Regions from separate parts of the Homo sapiens genome. Here regions 1 and 3 are each linked to region 2. The links are contacts of gene promoters, found by promoter capture Hi-C in blood cells and fetal thymus (Javierre and others, 2016). All regions are on one chromosome and are shown on one strand. Each heading gives the region's core, a stretch centred on a gene start or on the middle of the fragment in contact. The rest is flanking DNA. Distances are from core to core; before and after follow the strand shown.

Region 1 (3,992 bases), core at 506-3,005, 5.8 Mb after region 2:
AGTTAGAATTAATCAATTTGTTTTTTCAAATTAGAACTGAAATTTTGAGAATTTTATTTGGAATTAAACATTTTAAGTTTAGAATTAAATACATTAAACTAAATAATCTATATTATTCATTTTTAAATTGAGCACAAAACAGAGAATTTTACCCATCATAATTTCTCAGAAAAGTTGTGTTTATTTGTTTTATTTGAATGAATGAGTAAGTATGTTGATTTCAAGCAATTCAATAGCTTCTGCCTTTAGGTGACATTCTCCTGAATGAAATTATTTCTTACCTGTTTGAAGAATGGACCATAAGGTGATGATGTAATAGTATACTACTGACAAATTATAAATATATATCTTACATTTAGCTGAGTCAAGGTGGCACTAAAAAATATTCTGCCAACACAATGAAAATAATAAGACAACTTTTTAAGAAAACGAAACTACACATACACTAAAAGAATGTTAGCATATGAAATTGACAGGTGCAGAAGACTAAAGACCAAGAATTCATAACATTTCTGAATCTATCAGTCCTCATTATCCAGTTTAAAGGTTACCAGACTAATGCAGGACCTGGTACAGATCGCAAAGGTAAGCTGGATGCTGATTGAGATGGAGAAGGCAGAAACTGAAAATAAACATTTTAATGAGAAATTATTTAATGGCAAAAGCTTTCTGGAAAGTAGAACAAATCTACCTCACTTGCTAGCATTCATTTTTATTGACTTAGTTTCAGTTTATTGAGTCCTGAAGGCTGTGTGCATGACAATAATTAATTCACTACATAGTTTAATAGACTATTGAATTTAAATTATTTGGAAATTGCAGCACAGATGTTAATTAGTTGGTTTGTCTAGTTCAAGCCACCTTTTCTGAATGAGTTCCCTAGCCCCTGCTAAATGACGGGCCTGGGCAACTCTATTTTAATCAGGTCCCCTTGTTTCCTGGTCCAAACCACTAGGATCTGAGACTGAAACCAGAAATAAGGCAAGCCAAGAGATAATCTTCTGGGAATTTGGAACTGGATTACAAAATTACAAATTAATCTGAATGAGGAGGAAGCCATGTTGTCCTAGGGCTAGGTAGTGTGTTTTATTTCCTACACACCACAGCTGAGTGTACCCATTCTTAGACAGAACTCGGGAGGATGGAGCAGACACAGAGATGACAGAGAATGACCACCAGTGACCCAAGGAGGTCGAGAGTAGAATCTTGATTTCTGACTTTCTGGTTCCCGAATCTTATGCTTTATGGAAACTTGAGACATTCTTTCCTTCTTTGCGTTAAGTAGTTTGGTTATATTTCTGGTTTTTGCAATCAAATATTCTGATAGCAGTTTAGATACAACTTGCATCTAATTGTAAAAGAAAGTAGAGATCATTGCAGCCATCTGTCACTCACCATTTTTACCTTCTACTGTCAGTTCTTCCTACAGTGAAGAGATGGCTGCAATAATCCAGCAAGGGGTTGGTGGCTTGGACCAGAATGGTTAAAAGTGATTGTAGTGCACAGGGGGTTAGATTCGGGGTTATATTTTAATGGTAGAGCCAAACGGATTTGCTGATGGTATGGGGGTATCAGAGACAGGAGAGGTAAATATGATGCCTCGAGTTTTGGCCTGAGCACTTCAAAGTGTGGTACTACAATTTCATTTCCACAATTGTGACTCCTGACTAATTTCTGGTTACCATTTGTTCCTCAGTGGACTCAACAAATATCATTAGCTAAATGCACAAGACTCATCTGGGAACTAGCAATCCACTATATTATGATTTTTATTTTTTTAAGATGGAGTTTCACTCTTGTTGCCCAGGCTGGAGTGCAATGGCATGATCTCAGCTCACCCCAACCTCCGCCTCCTGGGTTCAAGCAATTCTCCTGACTCAGCCTCCCAAGTAGCTGGGATTCCAGGCATGCACCACCATGCCTGGCTAATTTTTTTGGATTTATGGTAAAGAGGGGGTTTCTCCATGTTGGTCAGGCTGGTCTTGAACTTTTTTTATTTTTTTGATGCCAAGTCTCACTCTGTCACCCAGGATGGAGTGCAGTGGCGTGATCTTGGCTCACTGCAACCTCCGCCTCCCAAGTGCAAGTGATTCTCATGACTCAGCCTCCCAAGTAGCTGGGACTACAGGCATGCGCCACCACACCTGGCTAATCTTTGTATTTTTAGTAGAGACGGGGTTTCACCGTGTTGGCCAGGCTGGTCTTGAACTCCTGACCTCAAGTGATCTGCCCACCTTGGCCTCCCAAAGTGCTGGGATTACAGGTGTGAGCCACCACGCCCGGCCCATTGTGATATTTTATAAGCTCTGGCCTTTCTACAAAAACAGATCAGGCAGATGTTAGTGAGCCTTGACTATTGCAGAGATTACCTCTGTAATTTAATATTTAATATTATTTGTAAGGGTGTAATTAAACTATAGACGAAAATGTCTAGACAAGGGTCAGAAAGTCCGAGTGAAGAGAAAATTCCAGAAGTGCAAAACAAAACTAATAGAACCAAATGTACAGTTAAATGTAAATTAGTAGGCATTAATATATAATATGAGTGAAAAATAACGTCAAATTCTAAAAACCTAGACCCTGATCAGGCAATCAGAAATTGCTTGATACATCTTCATATATTTCAAGTGCTGTTTCTACAATGGGAATGGTATTTCTAAAATGGGAAGAGTATCTGAGGTAAGAAATAATGCTCCCACTAGTCTTAATTTTAATATTTTAGGATTTGAATATTATTGTAAATACATTGAACATTTTGCTAAACTTTTCCCAAAGGGTTTGCTTTTCTTTTCAAATAACTCATTAAAATTTGATTTGTGGACTAAAGAGCAAGCAATAAAGCTTGTTCCTTATGGAATTACTCACAGCTAATATACTGTGGTAATGAAATAAGCTTGAAACAGCAGTGTAAGTTAATATTTTGTTCCTTCCTCACCTTCACTGCCTCCTTCCACTGCATCCCGCATTCCACCCCTGGATTCGCACCTATATATATATTTATATATAGACAGCGACTAATCGTATATCATATTACTTCTAAAAAGTATTCTCAAAGGGCAGGCCAAGCACACCAAGTGTGATTCTGAGGGCTGTCGCCCAGGCTGGAGTGCAGTGTCCCGATCTCAGCTCATTGCAACCTCCGCCTCCCTGGTTCAAGCGATTCTCCTGTCTCAGCCTCCTGAGAAGCTGGGATTACAGGCACCCGCCACCATGCCCGGCTAATTTTTGTATTTTTAGTAGAGATGGGGTTTCACCATATTGGCCAGGCTGCTCTTGAACTCCTGACCTCAAGCGATCCTCCCAGCTTGGTCTCCCAAGGTGTTAGGATTACAGGCATGAGCCACAGCGCCTGGCCATCTTTTTTTTTTTAATTAAAAACTATGCAGCACGCAAAGTAGTACTCTTCATCTGAAAAATAGGTCAGTAACTAAACACCAACATACTAATAGAAAACTGTCTGCTTTTTCCCCTCAGAGAGAGTTGCCTGACAGGGCAGCCCAGTGAGACAGTGTTAATTGAGACCGATGTAACAGTGCCTGCCATCGTAGGCTCTGGGGCTGTGTCACCCCTCTTAGTCACTGAACTGTGGAACATTTAGATGCAAACTCTTTTCTTTCTGGTCAACCCTAAAGATTACCACATAAGAAATCAAAAAGGACCAAAACAAAAACCTTAACATAAGGAGGGTGGGAACACTTTCTCTAAAGACCCATCAGAGCCAAGAGAATCATATTAATACTAACAATGAAAACATGCAAAGGATGCTAATTAACTCTTAGAAGTTTTTTGCAGAAGGTAGGAAAGCACAGTCTGTATCCATGGGATGGAGTTCCTCCAAGCAGGACTAGGTATCTAGCTTTAAACTCAGAATGGATTTTTTAAAATGTGTTTGTAGGAAACACTACACACTTGGTCCAAAGATAATGTACCTGCAGACCTAAAACTGGAGTACCTGCTTCCCCCAGCCCGGGTCAAACAGCTTCCACTTTGGG
Region 2 (4,453 bases), core at 586-3,085:
TAAGTCGTAGTCAGGCATTCCCTCTGCTTATTATTCCCTCTGCTTATTATGCAGCCCTGCATTGCCAGTTCAACGCATCTGGGTTCAAAGCCTCAGAAAGCGTCCTGACCATCCAAAATCCTTAACCTATACTAATCTGCATTCTCTACCCCCGATTACATTCTTTCATATCCTCTTTCGTGTTCTGAAATTGTTCACTGTCAACTTCTTTCCCATTGGTCTCTGTAAACTCCCTAAAGGACAGGACTTTGTCTTTTCAACCCTGAATCTCCAGGATCTAGCCCCAGGGCCAGGTTAGGGTGAGGCAAGGAAGCACAGGCCTCAGGTGCGTTTACGGGGATGAAAAAAATTTAAGTCATCAAGAGTGACACTATTTTAACATTTTTAAAAATGAAAAAGGCAAAAAACCCATGATGAACTAATTATCAAAATTTTAGGTAAAGACAGGATCCACCCAGCACTTGTATGATTCATCCTAATCCTGGCCGCGCCCCACAACTAATTATCAAAATTTTAGGTAAAGACAGGATCCACCCAGCACTTGTATGATTCATCCTAATCCTGGCCGCGCCCCACCGGACTCGTCACTAACGGTACTGAAAACTGACTACAGCCAAGAACTCACTCCGAGGCTGCAGAAAGGCACCAGAGGGAAACAGCAAAGGAGGATTCGCCGTTTTGGAGTTCACATCCCGTTGCTTCACTGGGCTGTAGCCATAAAGCTGAGTTCAGGGAATGCACTGCCCTACTTAAGTGCATATTCAAATTGTGAAAAGTTAAGCATCACTAATACTCCGGTACACTTTCATACTGACGTCCATGCCAGCCATCACTAAAAACTCCCTTGGCCACGGGGGTCCAGCCCAAGAGGGCGGGCACTTCTATTTATTCTTTTTTTGGGAGCAGGACTACTGTCTCCTACACCTGGCCCTTTAAGGAAAGGAACAAAAACCCAGGGGAGCGTAGCTGCACACTCAGTAAACTTAACGTTCCTATAAACCAGTAGCGTCTGAAGTGTGGTTGAAAATACAAATAAACGCGCTTGCAAGGAAGAAGTGCCTCGGTCCTACCCTCGGCCCCGCCGGAAGGCCCTGGGAGATGCAGCCGCAGGTCTCCTGCTACAGCCGCTGGGGAAGGCCGCACAGCCTCCTCGCCCACCCCGGAGGAAAAAATCGCGGGGGACTCCAGTGCGCAGGCGCCGACCCGCCAACTCCGCAGCCACAGCCCGCCAAGGCGCCTGCGCAGAGGCGTGGGTCAAGGGGAGGGTCGAGTTAGGAGGGAGAGCAGAGCGCGCGCGTAAATCCTAGAGAGGCGGGCTAAGCTGGACTGGGGGGAGGGTCCGTCTTCCGGAAAGTCTGGATTCCCGGACGAGCCGAGTTGCTGCTCACCGAACTCCCGTTCGAGAGATGATCGAAGAAAGTCGGCTACCATTTGTACCCATCAAAGATCTCCAGATGGAAGCCAGCGCTGAATTTGGGCTGAGATTAGGACTTGCAGGAGGCCGGTCCAGAAGACGGCGGAAGGAATCTTGGCGGGCGCACGCATGCGTGATAGACCCTCCACACGTGTGGCCGGGCCGCGGCCTCCCCGTGCTCGGAGGTCCCGCCCCCGGCCGTAGCATCTTTCCGGACGTGGGGAGCCGGTAAGCTGGAAGGGGGCTGGGCTTCGCGGCTCGGCCCCGCCTCGGCAGCCTCCAATTGGGCGCGGACGAGGGCGCCCCCACCCACTGCCCTCCTATTGGTGCGCGCATGCAAGCGACGCGTCTCATTGGACCGCGCGGATTTAGGCACCAAATTCAAAGATTTTAAAAGTACCAGCTGGCGCCTTTTAAGAGATACAGGTCTGTGAAGCAGGCAGGTTGCTCAGCTGCCCCCGGAGCGGTTCCTCCACCTGAGGCAGACTCCACGTCGGCTGGCATGAGCCGGCGCCCCTGCAGCTGCGCCCTACGGCCACCCCGCTGCTCCTGCAGCGCCAGCCCCAGCGCAGTGACAGCCGCCGGGCGCCCTCGACCCTCGGATAGTGAGTGAGGGGAGCGGTCGCGAGGGGGGCGCGCACGCCAGGAGGGGTGCACGGGGAGGGTCGCAGCCTGAGACCCTGACCCGACGTCCCTCGGAGCCTGGACGCGCGGCCATGCCACACGCCCGGCCTCGGGCGGCGGCAGCGGTTCCTGGGTCCGGGAGGAGGGCGGCTGGGTGTCGGGGGGAAGCCAGAAGAGCCAGATGTGCAGGGGCGGGATGGCGGGCCGCGGGGTCCCGCCACCCACGCCGACCGTGGACTCCAGCCCCGGGAGGTGCGGGTCGTGGCATCCCAGGGCGCCCTTTTTCCTCCTCGGAAGACCCACCTACCCCACCCTGCTTGAATAGGCGCCAAATGCCCCTCCCCTCCCCCACCCCGGGGCCCCCGGCGGTGACAGGGCTGCGAGCGAGAAGCCCCCAGGGCCTGGCCAGGTGCCTCACCTTCTCCCCCTGCGCCCCTTTTCTACATCTGCCCCGCACCCTCACAGCCAAAGGCAGTTTCCCCGATTTTTCGCGGTCCCAGCCTTGCTGGCGGGCGCGGGAGATCGCGCTCGCGGTTATCTCCCGCCTCCTCCGCGTGTCCCGCGCCCTGAGGGGCAGCCCCACCGATCCCTCAGGAGTTCCAGGGTCTCCCTCCCCACTCCCGCCAAATGGAGAGACACCCCCCCAACTCATTGGACCAAACTCAACTGGGACATCCAAACAAAAACGTTACTTTTTCCCAATTTTTTCTCCCTTTGCCCGTTAACCCAGTCTCAGGGCCTGGAGTGGAAAGGGAAGACTTTAAAAAAAGCAATTTTTACTACGAACCTTGAATTTGTCCATAGTATTAAGATGATTTTGTAAGAATCGAAGAATTGGTGACTTTTTCCCGATAACTCATGAAGAATTAGATAGTCCTTTATTTCAAAGCTTGCAGAGAATGGAATGCACTCAAATGCTTATTTTTATCCTCTTTGTTGCTACCTCTAAATAAAATCTATATGCACTTATTTTTACCTGAGAAATAACCCAAAATGAAAAAATTTAGCAATTCGGCATTGTACTATTTTGTAATGACTCTATTATTAAAAAAGAACTCTAGAAAAAAATACTTAATTTTAATTTTAATAGATTAAATATATTTCTAGAAGATCCTGGATCGTCAGTCTACCATCGAAATTCTGAAGCTTGATGGCCTTATGAGGGTTTTTTTTTTTTCTTTTTTGATAACTCTAATTGTCTTTACTACCTTGCTCCTCAGAAAGAAATGACTGCCTGTTGGAATTTTTTCCCCAGTTTACAGGTTTGAGGAGATGAAATTAAAAATACATATATGTTACTTCCAAGTAGTTTTCAAAGGAGGCTTTTGTAAAATTTTCTCTTAAAGATTACTTTATGGTCACAAGCATTGGGCCTCTTAAATTCTTAAGGAATAGCCATGCCTAACGTTGACCACATGGTCGTTATCTGTAGGTATTAGAGACTGGAACTTAATTATTTAACAGAAGAGTTACAAAGATTTTTAAGGACTGCAGCCTTATTTATGATATTTGATATGGAGGATCAGGTCTATATTGAAAAGTTAAATGTAAGATCAAACATTGTAAAATTTACTTTTCTCTATATGACTGGGCTGGGAGTTGGTAAATGAGAAGTTTAAACAATGCCATGTATGAGTCTTATTAGTGTCTGCACTTGGGGGAAAAATAGGAATAGGACATTCCAAGTTCACAAAGCTAGTCAAAAGGCTAAGCAAGGATTTTCATTCAAACTTGGATCTGATTCTTAAATCTATACATTCTAATGGAAAAGTATGTGTTACTCTGAAATATATACTTCTTTGTGAAATGTGTTTTACTACTTTCAAATGTTAATGATTGTCAATGTAAGGAATATGAAGGGATTTGGCTTATGTGATTAAAAATAGATTGTATTGACTAGACCCTTGTGATAGGGACTTTGCCTTGCATTTAGTCCTGTTTCATTGTCTTACTCCCATTTTATGGATGAGGAAAGTGAGGTTTTAAGAGTTAACTTCTTCAGTTTTCCATACTCAGTAAATAGCACTGTATACCTTCGATACTCAAGACTTAAACCCCAGGGTGTTTTTTTACTCTCCTTTTCTTCATATCCAGATCTAGTAGATTAGCAGCAAGTTGACTTTACCCTTCTAAATAACAGACCTTGAATTTATGCAGTTATTTTCATTTCCACTACAATCCTTCTAGTCTGGGTTTCCCACACTCTACTTCTGTCATAAACACTTCTAACTATTCTCTCTGCTTCTACTTACCTTCCTGCAATTCATTCTCCACAATTGCCAATGATCTTTTAAAAATGTAAACCAAATTTCTCCACTTTTGACCCAGCCTACCCCACAAATCTGCAGATCATTCTACTTCTTCAACTATAATTTTCAATAACCTCCCCCAACTCAGCCCTACAGATATTTCTCT
Region 3 (4,406 bases), core at 1,199-3,698, 7.0 Mb after region 2:
GAGTTCAGGAGTTCAAAACCATCCTGGCTAACACATGAAACCCCGTCTCTACTAAAAATACAAAAAAAAAGTTAGCTGGGCATAGTGGCAGGCGCCTGTAGTCCCAGCTACTCAGGAGGCTGAGGCAGGAGAATGGCATGAACCCAGGAGGTGGAGCTTGCAGTGAGCAGAGATCACGCCACTGCACTCCAGCTGGGCAACAGAGTGAGTCTCTATCTCAATAAATAAATAAATAAATAAATGCATTATGATGTTACAATGGCTATGATGTCACTAGTCCATAGGAATTTTTCAGCTCCCTTATGGAACCACTGTAATATTTGGTCCCTCATTGACCAAAATGTCATTATACAATGCATAACTGTATTGAAAGTTAAGTAGTCACATGCAGCCAATAACTACCTTATTGGATTTGCTTTGGCCAATAGTAGCTAGAAACTACTTCCTTGGAGGTGCCAAGGAAATCACTTCCTTTGAATCATAGGGCCACCTTGTTCCTAAATAAAGGTTCAGTCATCAGGGAAGGAGGATAGACCTTAGGCAGGTAAATAATGTCACTTTAGTTTCTTTTATGGTTATTGGTCTATTCATATTTTCCTTCTTGGGCCAGTTTTGTTCATTTGTATTTTGTTAGCAAAATTTTATCACTTTATAATTTATCATTTTATCTAGATTTTTCAGATTTATTGAATAAAGTTATACTTAATATTAAAATTTCTAAATCTCGTGCATCTTTTTGTTTTTGCTCTTTAAATCAACTTTATGATATAATTTATGTATAAGAAAATTCAATTTAAAGTATATAATTTGATGAGTTTTGACAGATGTATACTCTGCAATCATGTGTTGAACATTTATGTCACCCCAAAGCCTGCCTTCCTGCTCCTTTACTGTCAGTCACCTCTTTATACTTCCTTGCCCCTGGTAACCACTCATCTACTTTCTGCAATCAGGTTTTTGCCATTTCTAGAATTTCATGTAAATGGAATCATATAGTATATAGTCTTTCACATCTAGCTTTCTTCAGTTTAGCATAATGCTTTAACAGTTCATTCAGGTTATTTTACAGAAGTCTCTTTTTATCACAGAATAGTATTCCATTGTGTGACTATGCCACAATTTGTCCATTCACCAGTTGATGGACATTTGGGTTTTCTTCCAGTTTGGGGCTTTTAATAGTAAAGCTGTTAACATTCAAGTTTAAATTTTTGTGGATTTATGTTTTGATTTCTCTTGGATAAATACCTAAGAGAGGGATTACTAGGCTGCATAGTAAGTTATATTCAATTTTATTAGAAACTGATACTTTTCCAAAGTGACTGTGCTGTGTTCAAATGTTGGAGAGTTCAGTTCTGTTTGAGCCATACTCTCAGTGTTTTAAATTTTTGACTATTTTAGTATATGAATAGTGGCATCTCATTGTGATTTGTGGGTTGAATTTGTATTGCTTTAATGACTGATGCTGGTGAAAATATTTTCATATGCTTATTTTACACTTATAGGTCATCTTTGGTGAAATGTCTATTCAAAATTTTTGACTTTTTTAAATGTTTGTCTTACTATTAATTTGTGAGAGTTCTTTATATATTCTGCAAACATATCCTTCATCAGATACTTGATTTGCTAATATTTTCTCCCATCTGTGACTTGCTGTCATATTTTGATGACAGTATCTTTTGAAGAACCAAAATATTTAATTTTGATGAAACTTAGTTTATCATATTCTTACATAGTCTATGGTTTTTGTTTCCTGCTTAAAAATTTTTGTGCCTTTTTTTTGGGCTAATCCAATGTCATTTAGGTTTTCTCCTCTGTTTTCTTTGAGAAGTTTTAGTTTTAGCTTTTATAGTTTATTATCTATTTTTAGTTAATTCTTACATTTTAGGAGGTAAAGCTTCATTTCATTGCATATTGGTATCCATTTACTAAAAGGATACCTTTCCCATTGACTGCCTCTGAACTTCTTTCAAAAATCAATTGACCATCCATGTGTGGGTCCACTACAGGACATTTCCCTTGATCTATATGTTGGTCTTTACACCACTACTGCACCATTTTTATTTCTTTTGACATATGTCTTGGAATCAGTGTAAGTCATTCAACTTTATTTTTCTTTTCTAAAATTATATTGACTTTCCTGTATTGTAGGCATTTTAGTATAAATTTTAACATCAGGTTGTCAGTTTCTACAGAACAAACCTGTTGGAATTTTGAATGGGATTGCTTTTCTATAGGTCAGTACTAAGAAATTGACATCTGAACATTTTGAGTCTTCTAGTCCATGAACATAGTACACTGTATAGATCTCTGATTATACTGTTATACTATTTTCTAAATTTTTATGTATGCTTGAAAATTTTCAGAATGAAAGTATAGTAAGTTATCTTTTACAGAAATTTAAAAATCAAGAAAAAAGTTTACTATATTTATACACATATTTTTTGTTTTTGCTTTTTATTTCCTTGTGTGTGGATCCAGATTTCCATCTGATGTCATATTTCTTCTACCCAAGCGCTTCTTACATTACTTAGATTGTAGGTATACAGGTGATAAGTCCTTTTGGCTTTTGTTGATCTTTTTTTCACCTTCATTTTTGAAAGATATTTTGCTGGGTTTAGAGCTGTGGGGTGGGAGCAGTGTCTAAACCAGAGAAATAGGGCCAATCTGGAGAGAAGTCCTCACTTTTCAGTAATTTAATTATGGCATACCTTATTGTGATTGTTCTTTATGTTTGCCCTGATTGGGTTTCATTGAGCTTCTTGGTTTTCTGAGTTGATGGTTTTTATAGAAGTTGGAAAATTTTCATGCATGATTTTTTCAAAAAGTTTTTTGTATCCTTTCCATTCTTTGCTGCTGAGATTCCAGTTTTATGCATGTTTGACTCCTTAACATTGTCTAGTAGGTTTCTGATGTTCTATTTATTGTTTTTTCAGTCTTTGTTTATCTCTACTTCATTTTTGACAGTTTCTGTTGTTACTGTTGTTTCCATTGTTTAAGCTTATTCTGCTTCTTTTTTTCTTTGCCATTTCTAATCTGCTGGTAATCTCATACAATGTGTTTTTCGTTTTAGATGTTGCATTTCCATCTGCATAAATTCTATAGGAGTCACTTGTATATCTATCATTTTTCTTTGTCATATTCATGTTTTCCTCTACCTTTAACATATTGAGAATATTTACAGTAGCTGTTTGAATGTTTGTTTCTGCTAATTATATCATCTGTGTCTTTTCTGGGGCTTTTTGATTTTTTTCTTGTAATGGGTCTTATTTTTCTGTTTTATTTTCATTTTTTTTGCGTGCCTGATAATTTTAGATTTGATGCCAGACATTTGTGTTGGATTTTGTTTCGCTCTTTTAAGTATTGTTGGGCTTTGTTCTGAGGGGCAGTTAAATTACTTGGGATTGAGAGATTTACCTTCCTATTATATTGCTTATTAAATGTATTTCTACAATTTATTTTATTTTATACAACAAATTGCCTTTACTATTAAAGACTAGCAAAACCATTAGAATTTATTTGATAAATGAGATTATGGTTAATATGTTCATTCCTTAGTCATAATGACCTGGTAAAAAAATTACTCATTGCCTTATATCTCACAGAAGATTTCATATTATGTTTATGGGCTATGAATTTATGCTGAATTTCTCATCTGGTAACCCTTAAATACTAAATCATCTCTTGTTATACCTCCTGTTGTTTCATTTGTCCTCTAGAGTTCACAGTTACCAGCCAAGAAAACTTGAAAATGAGCAGCCGACGGAAACGTGCTCCTCCAGTGAGGGTAGATGAGGAAAAGAGGCAGCAGCTTCATTGGAATATGCATGAGGACAGAAGGAATGAACCTATCATCATAAGTGATGATGACGAGCAGCCCTGCCCAGGTTCAGATACCTCTTCTGCTCATTATATCATTCTAAGTGATAGTCTAAAGGAAGAAGTGGCTCACAGAGATAAGAAGAGGTGTTCAAAAGTGGTGAGCTTCTCAAAACCAATTGAAAAAGAAGAGACTGTTGGTATTTTTTCCCCTTTGTCTGTAAAGTTAAATATTGTGATTTCTCCCTATCATTTTGATAATTCCTGGAAAGCATTTCTAGGAGAATTAACTCTTCAGCTTCTTCCTGCACAGAGTTTAATTGAAAATTTTTCCGAAAGGAGTATTACATTGATGAGTTCAGAGTCAAGCAATCAGTTCCTGATTTATGTTCATTCAAAAGGTGAAGATGTAGAGAAACAAAAAAAAGAACCGATGAGTATTTGTGACAAGGGTATTCTGGTGGAGTCATCCTTCAGTGGTGAAATGTTAGAAGATTTGGGGTGGCTACAAAAGAAGAGAAGAATAAAACTCTATCAGAAACCAGAAGGAAATCACATTATCAAGGTACTCAGTTTTTTGTGGTGTCTTT

The links. The method cuts DNA at HindIII sites, captures the fragments that hold promoters and counts their contacts. A CHiCAGO score of 5 or more calls a contact.
Region 1: a fragment that was not itself captured here is called in contact with the fragment with the promoter of FBXO5 in region 2 in 1 of 17 cell types (total B cells); the score reaches 10.8 in total B cells.
Region 3: a fragment that was not itself captured here is called in contact with the fragment with the promoter of FBXO5 in region 2 in 1 of 17 cell types (total B cells); the score reaches 11.3 in total B cells.

Annotation. Positions count from the first base shown.
Region 1 is chr6:147,197,231-147,201,222 of GRCh38, reverse strand. All of the region lies in intron 1 of STXBP5-AS1 (STXBP5 antisense RNA 1), which reads left to right. Among named protein-coding and RNA genes, the nearest start is that of STXBP5, 5.2 kb to the left of the region's middle. The HindIII fragment of the contact is 2,176 bases long and covers 668-2,843 here.
Region 2 is chr6:152,980,423-152,984,875 of GRCh38, reverse strand. FBXO5 (F-box protein 5) reads left to right here and starts at 1,835. Exons shown (of 5, transcript NM_012177.5): 1 at 1,835-2,019. The coding sequence starts at 1,917. RefSeq lists enhancers at 242-341, 872-991, 1,282-1,501 and silencers at 1,532-1,851, 2,332-2,401. The HindIII fragment of the contact is 9,521 bases long and covers 1-2,929 here.
Region 3 is chr6:145,954,665-145,959,070 of GRCh38, reverse strand. It overlaps SHPRH (SNF2 histone linker PHD RING helicase), which reads left to right. Exons shown (of 30, transcript NM_001042683.3): 2 at 3,717-4,381. The coding sequence starts at 3,749. Among named protein-coding and RNA genes, the nearest start is that of SHPRH, 7.5 kb to the left of the region's middle. The HindIII fragment of the contact is 1,103 bases long and covers 1,897-2,999 here.